Linked DNA regions of Homo sapiens: region 2 is linked to region 1. Evidence: promoter capture Hi-C in human tissues and cell types (Jung and others, 2019). All regions are on one chromosome and are shown on one strand. The core of a region is centred on a gene start or on the middle of the fragment in contact, and the rest is flanking DNA. Distances in the headings are between cores, read along the strand shown. Region 1 holds the start of TRAF3IP2 (TRAF3 interacting protein 2). Region 2 overlaps RPF2 (ribosome production factor 2 homolog).

Region 1 (7,080 bases), core at 3,792-6,291:
TGTTAATATTTATTGAATGGTGACTACGTGGGAAATGCTGTTCCAAGTGTGATAGATATATTAACTTACTTAATCCTCACACCCACTCTAATTTCCTAAGTACTATTGTCAGACTCATTTTACAGACAGGAAAAGCAAGGCATAGAGAAGGTAAGTAACTTTTCCGAGGTCACATGGCTATTAAGTAGCAGAGCTGTGATTCAAATATAAGCGGTTTGGCACCAGATCCTGTGCACTTAACCGCTTGCATCTCGGTTGGGAGCACTGACTGGTTCAGCTATTGGGAGGGAAGAAAGGGGATGGGGAAGCCACATAACCCCTAGGAGATTCTGTAATAAATATGCTTCAGAGCCATTCACCTTGAAGCTGAGGAGGCATGGAAGCAGGCCACCTGTGTTCTGTACAGCATCACCAGGCTGGAAATCTGCCATGGCTTTCCTTCACGCCATCACAAGAGGATACAGATGAGGCTGCAGAGGCATCTTGATTTGAGAAAAGCATTTGACTGGATCTCATTAAATTTTAATCATTAACTGAATTCAAAATAAATTGAAAACTGGTTGACAGAGCACCAACAAAGGGTGATGATAAATGGTGATGCATCTAGAGGGGAGCTATCTTCCAGGGGACAACTCTAAGGCAAGGACGGATGGGATTTAATGAAGGTGTTATGTCCCCAGAAGAAGACAAATAGCACAGCAAGGAACAGAGGAAGGACAGGAGTGAGCAGCCTGAGTAATTAATAAACCATATTAACAGCTCCTCCATAATCAGGCCTTGGTGATCACAACTGCTTGGATTTTTTCTTAAGCTTTCTTTGAGTCAGGAATAGGTTTGAAGCGTCCTAGAGACACACAGCATGAATATTTCAGGTGGACATTAAAAAGAAATCTATAAATTTACAGCTGGGAGGATCCTGAGATCTACTTCGGATCAGAAACTTTCAATTACAAGATTCCCAAGGCCTTACTTCATTCCCCAGAGAGTAATCTTTTTAATAAATGTCCAAAAGTCATGGATTTAAAAAAAAATCTTTAAACTCATTAATGTCCTTTGTTTCCTGCCCAAATGCATGCAAACTTTCATAACACTGGTTTGCTGAGTGGAAGGTTGGTTTTGAGTGAACTGTTTGGCTCAGATTCAAACTCCAATGAACAAATACTTCCAAGTTTACTTGCTGAATTTCCCATACAGAGAAGTTCTTCCACTGGGCTTGCCAGAGGATTTGAAACAGTGGTGAGCCCTGGAAGGAAGGGAATATTTACTGGCCCTTGGACATAAACCCAGCACAGTAAGACTCACATCAGGCTGAAGGCAGTGCAGTATGAACCGACCTGATTTGAGGAAGTTTGCTCTGGGACTCCTCTGAGCTACTAAATGAGGAGGAGAAGGACTAATGGGAACACACTGACTCCATCACATTAGAAGTTATAATAAACATTTAGAGAACAACCTCAAACCAGCCCATGTTTTTTTTTTTTTTCTGTCGTTGTCATTGTTTTGGTTTTTGTTTTTTTGTTTCTTCAGATAAGATGGTTTCTCTAAGCACATGTGTGATCCCTAATTCAGCCACAGCCACGGAGTGAAGGAGAGGAAGGGGTAGAAAGGAAAAACCAAGAGAGGAAGAGGAAGGGAGAGAAAGGAAGGAAGGAGAACGGAAGAGAAGTAAGGAAAGTGGGGAAACGCTGAAGGATTTTTTTGTATTTGCCTTTTATTGGTGTAGGAGAGACACTTATTTACTTGTAATTTGTATGTAGTGCTGGGTATGAGAAGGGGCAGTTGGAAGAGAAGGGAAAGAATGAATATAGGTGAAAGGTAAGAGTGTCATAGGGTAAGCTGGGAGGCCAGGAAGAGTTTGGACAGACAGCTCAGAGTAGGAAGAGAGTTCAGAGCGGGGAGGGAGACCTGTTGACTCTGGGAAGGGGAAAGGGAAAAAACACTGGCATCCTGACTGCAGGGAAACAATGAGGCAGCGGAGAGCAAGTATCCCTCATTGCTGAGGGAGCTGCCAAGACCCCAGGCAGCCTCAGTCTGTGGGGTGCGGCCTGTGGGGTGCGAGGAGAGGGGCACAGGCTGGGAGCTCCGGTCAGTCCTGGCCCTCCTAAAGGGCTTGAGTTCAGCTGCCTTATCAGGGAACCAAGCCAAACCAGCACAGACCTAAGGATCACCCCATGGATGGAAGCCCACCCTTCTTCAGCCAGTCTACAACTCCTGGTATCCGGGAAGGTCTGTGCACACACAAGGTGTGCACACACACACACACACACACACACACAAGGCGTGCACACACAGCTACAGAGTGAGCTGAGTAGTCACAGCCAAGCACATGTGTGCTTCTAGGAGGCCTGCTGGGCACGGGAGGCAAAGACCATAAGTGGGAGAAAGGACAGCCTGAGTTTCATGAACTAAAAATATCTTGGTGACAACGCATTGGGAAGAAACAGGAGAGGCCCGGGGGGCAGCTTCTTGATTCCAGTCCTCAGACACTTTCTCATGGAAAAATCCTTCAGACTGCAGGATTGTTTTGATAAGGAAATGTGATCAAACATTAGGGGTCATTTCATTGGATCTGAAAGGAATTTAAAGTTGAATATGCCTCATCTGTGTTCACTCTTTTTTTTCTGCAGCAGTTGCCTGCAATTCATATATGTTTTTAGAAGCTAATTTAAAATTGCCTGCAGAAGAAAAATGATTTGAATTCAGGATATTCCTGAGATTTCCATTCTACAACGTGTAAAACAAAGATTTCATTTAGACAAACTACCCCACCATAATCTTTCTGAATGCCTGTTGAAGAATGCCTGCAGATATGACTGTCTTCTCCTCTTCTTTTTCTTTTCAGAGCATTTGAAAGTCACTAACTCCTTAATCCCAGGAGAAGCAGGCTTTAACATTTCCTGTCTCTACACCTTCCAAAAATGAGTAACCCTGAGTTAAGAACCTTTCTATCCGACATGTTGGTACATTACTCAGACCTCACTTCTGTTTAACCCACCCCATGCAAGGAACAGAGCAGAGTAACTACATTATCCATCTTTTGATGCTCCATCATGGAGTGACTGGTAGCTGCAGCAGCAGATTAAGAATGACTGTGGTGTGTGGCCTTTAAGGATTAGAGCGAGGCTGGCAAGTGCACAACAGTTAGCCTGCTTTCAGATAATGGTGCATCGTTGTTTGAAAATAAAATCAGGAACTCATTGCAGGTGAAATATCTTGAAATTCCTGTCCTTTCATCCCAGGGGAATAGAGAGAAATGCCTAAAAACATGACACGGACTACACCAGGACATCCCACAGAAACCAAAAGTCCTGCACCAGCCCATCCCAGTCAGCTAGGGCCTGTTTGAACTGTATTGATGGCAAGTAATTGCCAAAAAGAAACAATGACAATTTTTTTTTAAGTCACGGTCTGGAAAAAGTTAAGGATTCTGTGTATCCGCCATCTAATAATGTCTCTAATCACAGTCATCACCCTTACATGGTATTAGGATGTGTTTCATAGTTTCCCTTCCCCTCCCATTAAAGGCCCCACACACAGTGACTGGTCCAGCTGAGGAGTGGTTTCCAGGTCCAGCTACAGCAGTAACTCTGGCTTCTGGAGCTGGGCTTGTCTGCCAGTTCTCTGGCCTGCCTTGACTCTGTGGACAATAGCACAGACTATCCTTCCTGGGTAACCCAAATGGGACATGAACTAATTCGAGAAACTCCCTGTTTTCTCCTATTTGGCTAGAGCCAGTAATAAGGCCTCAATTCCAGGCAGCCCTCCCGCAGAGACACGTGTCTCCCAGCCTTTCGCCCTGACTGCTGCTTTACCTCTTGCCTTGAGAGCAGACGAGTGAAACAGAAATCAAAGCAGTTGACATGGAAGGGGGGTGAGCACCTACTAGGCATTTGGTAGCATGCTGGATTCTGGGAGGTAGAAAAATATCAGGAAACAAAGTCCTTTCCTCAAGGGGGTAACCAACTGGTAGTGGGAGGTAAAATTAAAATATGTGAATAATCGGTAAACAAAACAAGTCTTGAAGACCACCCATTACCACTACCCCTCTGGGACTATCCTGGCTTTGTTTTATAAGGGAATTTGACACACTCATGTTAGATCACCACCCCCCATCAATTTACTGATGAAGAAATCCAGGCTTAGTGGAGTCAGAGTGAATTGCCTAAGTCATGGAACCACAAGAAGTGAAGAACTTGAAACCAAGTTTCTTGTCCTTTTAAAAAATTTGGCCTCTTGTTCTCCTGTTCCTTTAAAAAAAAAAAAATCCCCCTATTCTAAGATACCATCTTGAACTTGAAAGTCACAAGAAGCTTGATTAGCTTCTAAGATCAAGTTCTGGCATTTCTCCCCCTTGTTCCCAAAGGCTCCGTCCAGCGCCAGGCTGGGAGGGCTGGAGGGCGGCTGCGGAGAGGGGCCGGGAGGCGGCTCACAGCCAGCACAGAGCTCAGCAGAACTTCCTGGCCCAAAAATGTGCTGTTGATTTTTTTCCCCCCTGCACGAAACAAGGATTGAGAAAACTGCCACTGACGTGTTCTGGGGCTGAAAGCCAATTACTTAATCTTTGCCATCCCTGGCTCTCTCTTTGGAGAAGTGGGGCTTGAATTCTTGAGAGAAACTTGTGGGGACACTAAGTACCCAAACGAATGGTTCCCAGGCAGCTCCGAGCTGTCCCCGTGTGCGAGCCTCCTCTCCTCAAAGGGTTAACCCGGCGGGGCTCGCTGGCCTGAAATACTATACTAGCAACACATCCTTGCAGCACAAACTTCACTGTCATTTTCTCAGCTAAGATGGTCTCTGTGCGAACAAGTTAAAGGAGGGGAGACGAACACAGAGGAAAGTAGAGGCAGAATGTTTCAGTAAAGGAGAAACAGCGTGCTTTGGGAAATAGGTCAGAGGTGAAGAAATAAGACCAGGCAAGTGGCAACTCCGAATAACTTACCTTAGATCCACCACGGACAGACAGACTGGGCCCGGAGGGTAGTCGGCTCTCGGCGGCTTCTCGTCTCCCTCCACCTTCTCCGGGCCCAGGTAAGTAGAAGAACAGGCTCTGAAGCAGGAAGTGGAAGCTGTATGCAAATTTCTACGGAGCCTAGGAAGCCTCTGCTCAAAATCTCCCTGTGGGCAGTGAATCAACGGCTGAGGAGTCACTTTATTTCTTAAAACAGAAACCTCCTTCATTCATGAGAAAGGGCCAGTGACCAATTAGGCGGCATTTTTGTTTTCGCCACCCAGCTAAGAAGCTGCCCAGGAGTGGGCAGAACCTCAGTGTAGTCGCAGTGCCCTCGCCTGGGAGGGTGTCTCCGGGAGGAGATTGAACTCGAATGTTAAGAATTAGTAATCATTAGCAGCTCCAAAGGAGGGGATTGTGGGCAGATAATGGGGAAGAAGAGGGAGTCGAGCTTCTTCCACCTCCTCTAACTGCTTAAAACATCAGCATTGCCGAGCGCGGTGACTCACGCCTGTAATCCCAGCACTTTAGGAGGCCGAGGCGGGAGGATCACGAGGTCAGGAGATCGAGACCATCCTGGCTAACAAGGTGAAACCCCGTCTCTACTAAAAAATACAAAAATTAGCCGGGCGTAGTGGCGGACGCCTGTAGTCCCAGCTACTCGGGAGGCTGAGGCAGGAGAATGGCGTGAACCCGGGAGGTGGAGCTTGCAGTGAGCCGAGATCGCCACTGCACTCCAGACTGGGCGACAGAGCGAAGACTCCGTCTCAAAAAAAAAATTTAAAAAAACCCAAAAAATCAGTATTTGCTGCCCATAACCACTGGGGGGGTGGGGGGGGGCTCACTGACCATGCTCCTGGACACACGTGTACACACAGCATACACATGCCTGTGGCTTGTGCACACACACCACCCTATTGTCAGGCACAAAAAAAGTGGTTAATTTTAAGAACACACACACACACATACATACACATGCACACATGCACACTAACCTCCTCTGGCTGCATTTTCCTGACCTCAAGATTTTTTTTCTCCCCTTTCCTTCCCATTGTTTAATCAGTAGCCTGCAGAATTTATTGCATGAAGGAGCGCTGCAGGCAGGATGATACCCAGCGATGTGAACAGAGAGAGAGAGAGACAACTGCCTTTCGGGGCAGCAGTCAGTAATGGGAGCAGTGTTAGCTGGAGCTTTGGAGTCAGGAGGACCTGGGTACGAACTCAGCCATGTCACTGGCCAGCTGGGCGCCCTGGGCAGACACACCATGCTCCTGGTGCTGGACTTGTCTGCCTGTTGAAGGGGTCCAAGTGTCAGTCCACTCAGCCGGCTATCTCTCTACTCTCATCAAGGGGACAGGCCCCAGAGCATCCCTGTTCAGATTGTACCAGGTTCTGCTCAAGCAGGATACAGGAAGCAGGTTGCTCAACATTCCACAAGCAGAGAAAATGCAGCTTGTTTTTAACACAGTATACACAGGTTGTTTGCATTTGGTTTGCAGAAAATGATGCAGCTATTAAAAATCATCAATATGTATGTATTATCTGAGCCACTAACATGAAAAAGTGGCTCTGAGATATTATTTAACTAAAAGTATTATCTTATTTTTTGCCAATATATGTGACATATACACACACATAGATATGTATATCGATTTTTTTTAAGAGACAGTGTCTCAGTCTATTGCCCAGGCTGGAGTGCAGTGGCGCAATCATAGCTCACTGCAGCCTTGACCTCCTGGGCTCAAACAATCCTCCTGCCTCAGTCTCCCGGGTAGGTGGGACTACAGGTGCACACCGCCACACCTAGCTAATTTTTAAATTTTTTCTAGAGACAGGTCTCCCTGTGTTGCTGAGGCTGGTCTTGAACTCCTGGTCTCAAGGGATCCTCCCACCTTGTGAGCAGCAAGCCACCCAGGTGCCGAGGCAAGAGACCGAGGACACGAGCTGTTCCAGTACAATAAAATATAAAACAAGAATAGTTATACCAGATATAGATCTTAGATATGATTATATATGAATATCATTAATCATTAGTTTGTAGCAATTACTCTTTATTCCAATATTACAATAAACCTTGCTCTATAATCATAACCTAGGAAAAACCAGGCCATACGAGATAAGAGCTGAGGGGA
Region 2 (6,531 bases), core at 4,032-6,531, 620 kb before region 1:
CAGAAGCTTTATATGTGACATTATATCTGGAGGAGTATTTTAAAAATCTACATGGGAAACTTAAGTGTATGTATGGTCTCTTTTTCTTCCCAAAGTGTCCATGGGACTGGACGAGGGAGGGTCATAATTATTTGGGAGGAAGAATTCTTTCAGTAGATGGCAGAGAACTGTCTGAAAAGCAAGGTGCTCATTGTAGAGGAAGCAGAGGTGAAGCCCCTCTTTTGAACAGAAGTGTGTAAAAACATGCCACTCCTACTGTCACATCATAAAGTCAGAATAATGAATTTATTTTCCCTTCATATTTTACAGGGTAATTGGTCTAGACGAATTTTTAAATCTAGCTTTAAAAAATTTGTTTTTTTTTGAGACAGGGTATCACTCTGTCACCCAGGCTGGAGTGCAGTAGCCCCATCACAGCTCACTGCAGCCTCGACCTCCCTGGGATCAAGCAGTCCTCCTACCTCAGCCTGCTGAGTAGCTGGGACTATAGGCGCACACCACCACAGCTAATTTTTGTATTTTTTGTAGAGACAGGGTTTTGCATTGTTGCCCAGGCTGGTCTCGAACTTCTGGGCTCAGTGATCCATCCACCTTGGCCTCCTAGAGTGTTTTTATTACAGGCTGTGGGCCACCTCCCAGCCCTAGCTCATTTTAAAAATTGGCCTGTTTACTTGCTGTGTGATCTTGGGCACATTACCTGTCTGTTCAATTGCCTCATCTGTAAAGTGAAGATAAGAATTGTAACTCGCGCGTGGAGGCTCACGCCTGTAATCCCAGCACTTTGGGAGGCTGAGGCGGGGGGGTGGGTCACGAGGTCAGGAGATCGAGACCATCCTGGCTAACACGGTGAAACCTCGTCTGTACTAAAAATACAAAAAATTAGCCGGGCGTCGTGGCGGGCGCCTGTAGTCCCAGCTACTCGGGAGGCTGAGGCAGGAGAATGGCGTGAACCTGGGAGACGGAGCTTGCAGTGAGCCGAGATCGCACCACTGCACTCCAGCCTGGGCGACAGAGCGAGACTCTGTCTCAAAAAAATAAATAAATAAATAAATAAGAATTGTAACTCTCAGGATTGTGGTGAAGATTAAGCCTTAATAGAGTGACTCCATGTAAACATCAGCCTTATTATTCCCCATTGTTGGCAATAATACTGGCATTCTCAGCAATGATGTTGGAGTGCAACAGTGTATACTTCCTGGCAGGCATTGTGGTCTTAAACCTAAAAGAAAAATAAGCAGTCGTTAGTCTTATGTTTAGTAAATGTCCACAGGTTGATCAGCAGTTGATGCTCAATTCTTTGTATTAGGGTACAGGATACAGTTTGACTACTTAAAGTTTGAAGAAAAAAGAAGAGTAAGAAAGAGTAAGAGAAAAAAAACAGCAACAGTATTTACTTGAGCCTTTTATTTTTTACTTAAAAAAAAGATTGGAAAGAGCAGTAATAAAAGAATGGTGGGAATACAAAAATGAAAGCTTTTTTTTAAAAGCTATCAAAACACTTATTTAACAATAATAAGGAAATATCTTTTACTAATATCTACCAAAAAAGTGAGATTTTGGCCGGCCCTTGTGGCTCGCACCTGTAATCCCAGCACTTTGGGAGCCGAGGTGAGCGGATCACCTGAGGTCAGTAGTTCGAGAATAGCCTGACCAACATGGCGAAACCCTGTCTCTGCTAAAAATACAAAAATTACCCAGGCGTGGTGGTGTGTGCCTGTAATTCTAGCTACTCGGGAGGCTGAGGCAGGAGAATTGCTTGAACTCAGGAGGTGGATGTTGCAGTGAGCCAAGATTGTGCCATCACTCTCCAGCCTGGGTGACAGAGTGAGACTCCATCTCAAAAACAAACAAAAAAAAACAAACAAAAAAAAGAAAGTGAGATTTTTTTTAAGGGTGGAACCCTAAGTGACAAATATGTTTTTAAGAATTTTCATATTAGTTAAGTCATGGCTTTGCAATGTGAGGAAAATGTTTAAATAGTTATGAATTGTGCTTTTCTGAACAGAAAGCCCAAAACGAAAAGAGCCAAGAGATTCCTTGAGAAGAGAGAACCGAAACTCAATGAAAATATTAAAAATGCCATGCTGATTAAAGGGGGAAATGCAAATGCAACAGTGACAAAAGTACTTAAAGATGTGGTAAGTATATATACTTAATCTTTAAAAGGTATTGAAGTCATTTTAGAATTTTCAGCATGCTAGGATGGGCTGTCGGAGAAATACGTAGATAAGCTTGCCTTACCATAAGAACTACTAGTCTTAGAGAAGAGCTAAAGTTGGGGGTTTATTTACCTTGCGTGGCACCTTTTCTTAAAGCAACTAGTTCTCTTAGTAAATTTTATTATTGTTTTTTAGGAGCACAGGTGGGTCTGGTAGAGTGAAGGTCTCCCTTAGTAAATTTAAACTGTTTTCAATTACTAGAATTTGGCTTACTTACATTTTAGGAAAAAATCTAATTTGTAAAGAGAAGTAACTGCATATTGCTGTATATTTAGTCATTCAACAACACCGGTTACTGTGCCTCTGCTGGGAATTAATAGGTGAGACACAGTTCTTTCAGTGAGCTTAGAGAGATAGACATGTAAAAAGTTCTTACACTGTGCTGTGCTGGAGGCATGGACAGGGTAGGGTGGGAAACAGTTAAAATCACATAGGGGAGGCCAGGCACGGTGGTTCACGCCTGTAATCCCAGCACTTTGGGAGGCCGAGGCAGGAGGATCACGAAGTCAGAAGTTCGAGACCAGCCTGGCCAACATGGTGAAACCCCGTCTCTACTAAAAGTACAAAAATTAGCCGGGTGTGGTGGCGGGCGCCTGTAGTCCCAGTTGCTCGGGAGGCTGAGGCAGGAGAATCGCCTGAACCTGGGAGGTGGAGGTCACAGTCAGTCGAGATTGTGCCACTGCTCCAGCCTGAGTGACAGAGAGAGACTCCATTTCAAAAAAAAAAAAAAAAAATCACATAGGGGGACCCCCACACAGGGTAGGTTCCCCCAGAGATAACACTGCAGCTTCATTTTGAAGGAGAAGTTGGTGCAAGAAGTGGGAGAGAAAGAGAAGATCCTCTGAGGCTGAGAAAGAAGTTTGTGCAAAAGGGAGTATGAAGGAGCATTGATGCATTTGGAGAACTGTAAATAATTGGGCATGGCCAAAGGAGAGTGGGCTAGATGAGGCTAGAAGAGGAGGCATGGGTCACATAGTAACATGAAATTTGAATTCTAATCTGAAAGCTCCGTGTAATCATTGAAAGATATTAAGCAAGAGATACCATCAGTCCTTTTAATTGGCTTGATTAGAGAGGGTTGAGAGCAAATGTAGGAAACTAAGCCATTGCTGCCAGCTAGGTGAAGAGCATCTGGAGTCCAGTGGTGGCAATGAAAATGAGAAATGACCAGAAAGAATAGATGTTGAGGAAAGAAGAGTTGGGAACTAGTGAAAAGTATGACTTCCCAGGTGTTTGGCTTGAGTGCCTGATGGGCAATAATGCCAATTAGAAAATGTATCAAGCGGAGCAGGTTTGGAGGGAAAGGTGAAAGGTTCGGTTTGGGACATGTAATTTAAGTAATGAAAATAAAAGCTTTGTTTTTTCTACCTCTGTAGCCTAGTGTACAGCCCAGTGTCTGGACATAGTAGGTACTCAATATATATGTAATCTATGAAAGAAAGGCATAGTATGGGCCAGGCACAGTGGCTCACACCTGTAATCCCAGCACTTTGGGAGGCCGAGGTGGGCGGATCACGGGGTCAGGAGTTCGAGACCAGCCTGGCTAACACGGTGAAATCCTGTCTCTACTAAAAATGCAAAAATTAGCCAGCCATGGTGGTGGGCGCCTGTAATCCCAGCTACTAGGGAGGCTGAGGCCGGAAAATCTGCTTGGACCTGGGAGATGGAGGTTGGAGTGAGCTGAGACCACGCCATTGCACTTACTCCAGCCTGGGTAACAGAGCAAGACTCCAACTAAAAAAAAAAAAAAGACATAGTATGTGGAGATATCTAGTAGGTTATTTGACTAATTAGGCCTTGAGTACAGCCAATAGATCTTTGAATTAAATCAATTAAGTAATCGAATACATTTTTGTTGTTGTTATTGAGGTGGAGTCTCACGCTGTTGCCCAGGCTGAAGTGCAGTGGTGCCATCTTGGCTTACTGCAACCTCTGACTCCCGGGTTCAGGCGATTCTCCTGCCTCTAGCCTCCCAAGTAGCTGGGAGCCACCACACCCAGCTAATTTCTGTGTTCTTTTAGTAGAGACAGGGTTTCACCATGTTGGCCAGGCTGGTCACAAACTCCTGACCTGACATGATCTGTCCGCCTCGGCCTCCCAAAGTGCTGAGATTACAGGAGTGAGCCACCATGCCTGGCTTTGAATATATTTTAAACTTGACCAAACTCTATGCCTGATAAGCATAGTCAATTCAGATGTCTGAATGCCTTATATAGGCCCATCCCTTTTTTGAAATGTTTGTCTGAATTTCATTGTGCTAACGGGAAACTGCCCCTCTCCTTCTAGTATCCATCAGCACAATGACCCTGCATATTTAAGTAAGCTTTAAAAGCAGCACAATATTACAGATTACTACAATAATTAAAATTCATCATGATGACTCTGAGTCATCAAGAAGAGGTGGCAATGTTTATTACACGGAAACAGGGAAATAGTTGGCCAAGAATCATCAAAAGTTTTAGTACTTAAAAAGGTAGATTTTACTGTTGCATTTTCTTTGTTCACCAACTCTGATAGTTGATGAATGATTATTATACCTTATTTTTCATTGTTTCCCTCATTTACCCATTTCTCTAATGCAAGGTAGTACCTGATGACATCTTTGTTATTCTCTATGGTAGAGCAGTACTGGCCATACAAGTAATAAATGATTATAGGCCAGGTGTGGTGGCTCACACCTGTAATCCCAGCACTTTGGGAGGCTGAGGTGGGAGGATCACTTAAGCCTAGGATGACAGCCTGGACAACAAAGTGAGACCCCATCTCTATAAATTAAATTTAAAAAAATAATAAAATACAGCCTGGACAACATGGTGAAACCCCATCTCCACTCAAAATACAAAAATTAGCTGGGCGTGGTGCATGTGTCTGTACTTGGGAGGCTGAGATGGGAGGATCACCTGAGCCCTGGAGTTTCAGGCTGCAGTAAGCTTTAATCACGCCATTGCACTCCAGCCTGGGCAACAGAGTGAGACCCTGTCTCAAAAATAAATAAATAAAATAAAATGAATGATTATTTGTGGATAGGTAGAACTAGGAAAAAAATGAAGAACATTGAATAATAGGCATTTTTTAAAGAGCTGTGTTTAACCTCTGGCTAGTATTCTAATTGTCATCATTATTACTGTTTCTAAGTTTTCTGATCTCCACGCAACATTATTTCAATCTGTCAGCCTTTCGTGATAGAATTTATTTTTTCTGTTTTTGTCTACTACTTTTTTTTTTTTTTTTTCTGAGACAGGGTCTCACTCTATCACCAGAGCTGGAGTGCAGTGGTGCAATCACGGTTCACCACAGCCTCGAATTCCTGAGCTCGGGTGATCCTCCCGCCTTAGCCTCCCAAGTAGCTGGGACTGCAGGCATGCACCACTATGCCTGGCTAATTTTTGCAGTTTTTTGTAGAGACAGGGTTTTGCCATGTTGCCCAGGCTGGTCTCGAACTCCTGGGCTTGAGTGATCTGCCTTGTCCTCCCAAAGTGTTGGGATTACAGGCGTGAGCCACTGCACCTGGAATTGTTTCCCTAGAGAGAGACTGGACTAAGTCGAGTTTAAAGAAATGAAGGAAATTGTTTAAGTTGGATAGACTATTGACAGGGCATAGAAACTTTTAAATAGGAAAGTCTAGTCCAAGAATATTAAGCTTACATTTCAAGTTACTGTAAGTGATGAAAAGGGAGCCAGGCAGAAGCCCTCAGAATAAGATTGAGGCCCCAGAGCAATCTTGGAGAGTGACTGTTATGATGCTTTATTTTTATTTCTGCTTTTCAGAATGTGTTTTGTTTTGAAAGCTATAAATTTTGTTTTACAGTATGCACTGAAAAAACCATACGGTGTACTATATAAAAAGTAAGTCATGATTTCTTTTACTGTATTTTAAATGATTTTGTTTCATTATAAAAGTAACCACTTTATGGAAGATTTGGAAAACAAAAACTTTTTAAAAAGATATTAAAATTCCTTACAGTTATTAATATTTTAATTTCTTTCTTTTGGTCTGTTTTTTTCATTTGTATTGAATGTCCTTGCATAGTTGTAACCATAGCATATATATTTTATTTTGAAATACAGATTTACAGAAAAGTGCAAAAATAATGCAGAATTCCCATATACCCTTCACCTGGCTTCCCCTAATGTTACATCTTGCATAACCGTAATGCAATGATCAAAACTAATAAATTAACACCGATTCACTCATGTTAATCAAATGACAGACATATTTGATTAGCACCAGTTTTTCTTTTTTCCTTCTTTTGAGACGGAGTCCTGTTGTCGCCCGGCTGGAGTGCAGTGGCATGATCTCTGCTCACTACAA

What was found. Contacts are between HindIII fragments. The study calls those that stand out against the background at their distance.
Region 2: a contact is called between a fragment that was not itself captured here and the fragment with the promoter of TRAF3IP2 in region 1, in 1 of the 25 tissues and cell types used here (spleen).

The regions. Positions count from the first base shown.
Region 1 is chr6:111,600,837-111,607,916 of GRCh38, forward strand. TRAF3IP2 (TRAF3 interacting protein 2) reads right to left here and starts at 5,042. Exons shown (of 9, transcript NM_147686.4): 1 at 4,940-5,042. It also overlaps TRAF3IP2-AS1. RefSeq lists enhancers at 4,751-4,820, 5,111-5,160, 6,006-6,638. The HindIII fragment of the contact is 20,769 bases long and covers 2,561-7,080 here.
Region 2 is chr6:110,983,001-110,989,531 of GRCh38, forward strand. It overlaps RPF2 (ribosome production factor 2 homolog), which reads left to right. Exons shown (of 10, transcript NM_032194.3): 2 at 2,006-2,138; 3 at 6,028-6,065. Among named protein-coding and RNA genes, the nearest start is that of RPF2, 4.2 kb to the left of the region's middle. The HindIII fragment of the contact is 4,760 bases long and covers 2,902-6,531 here.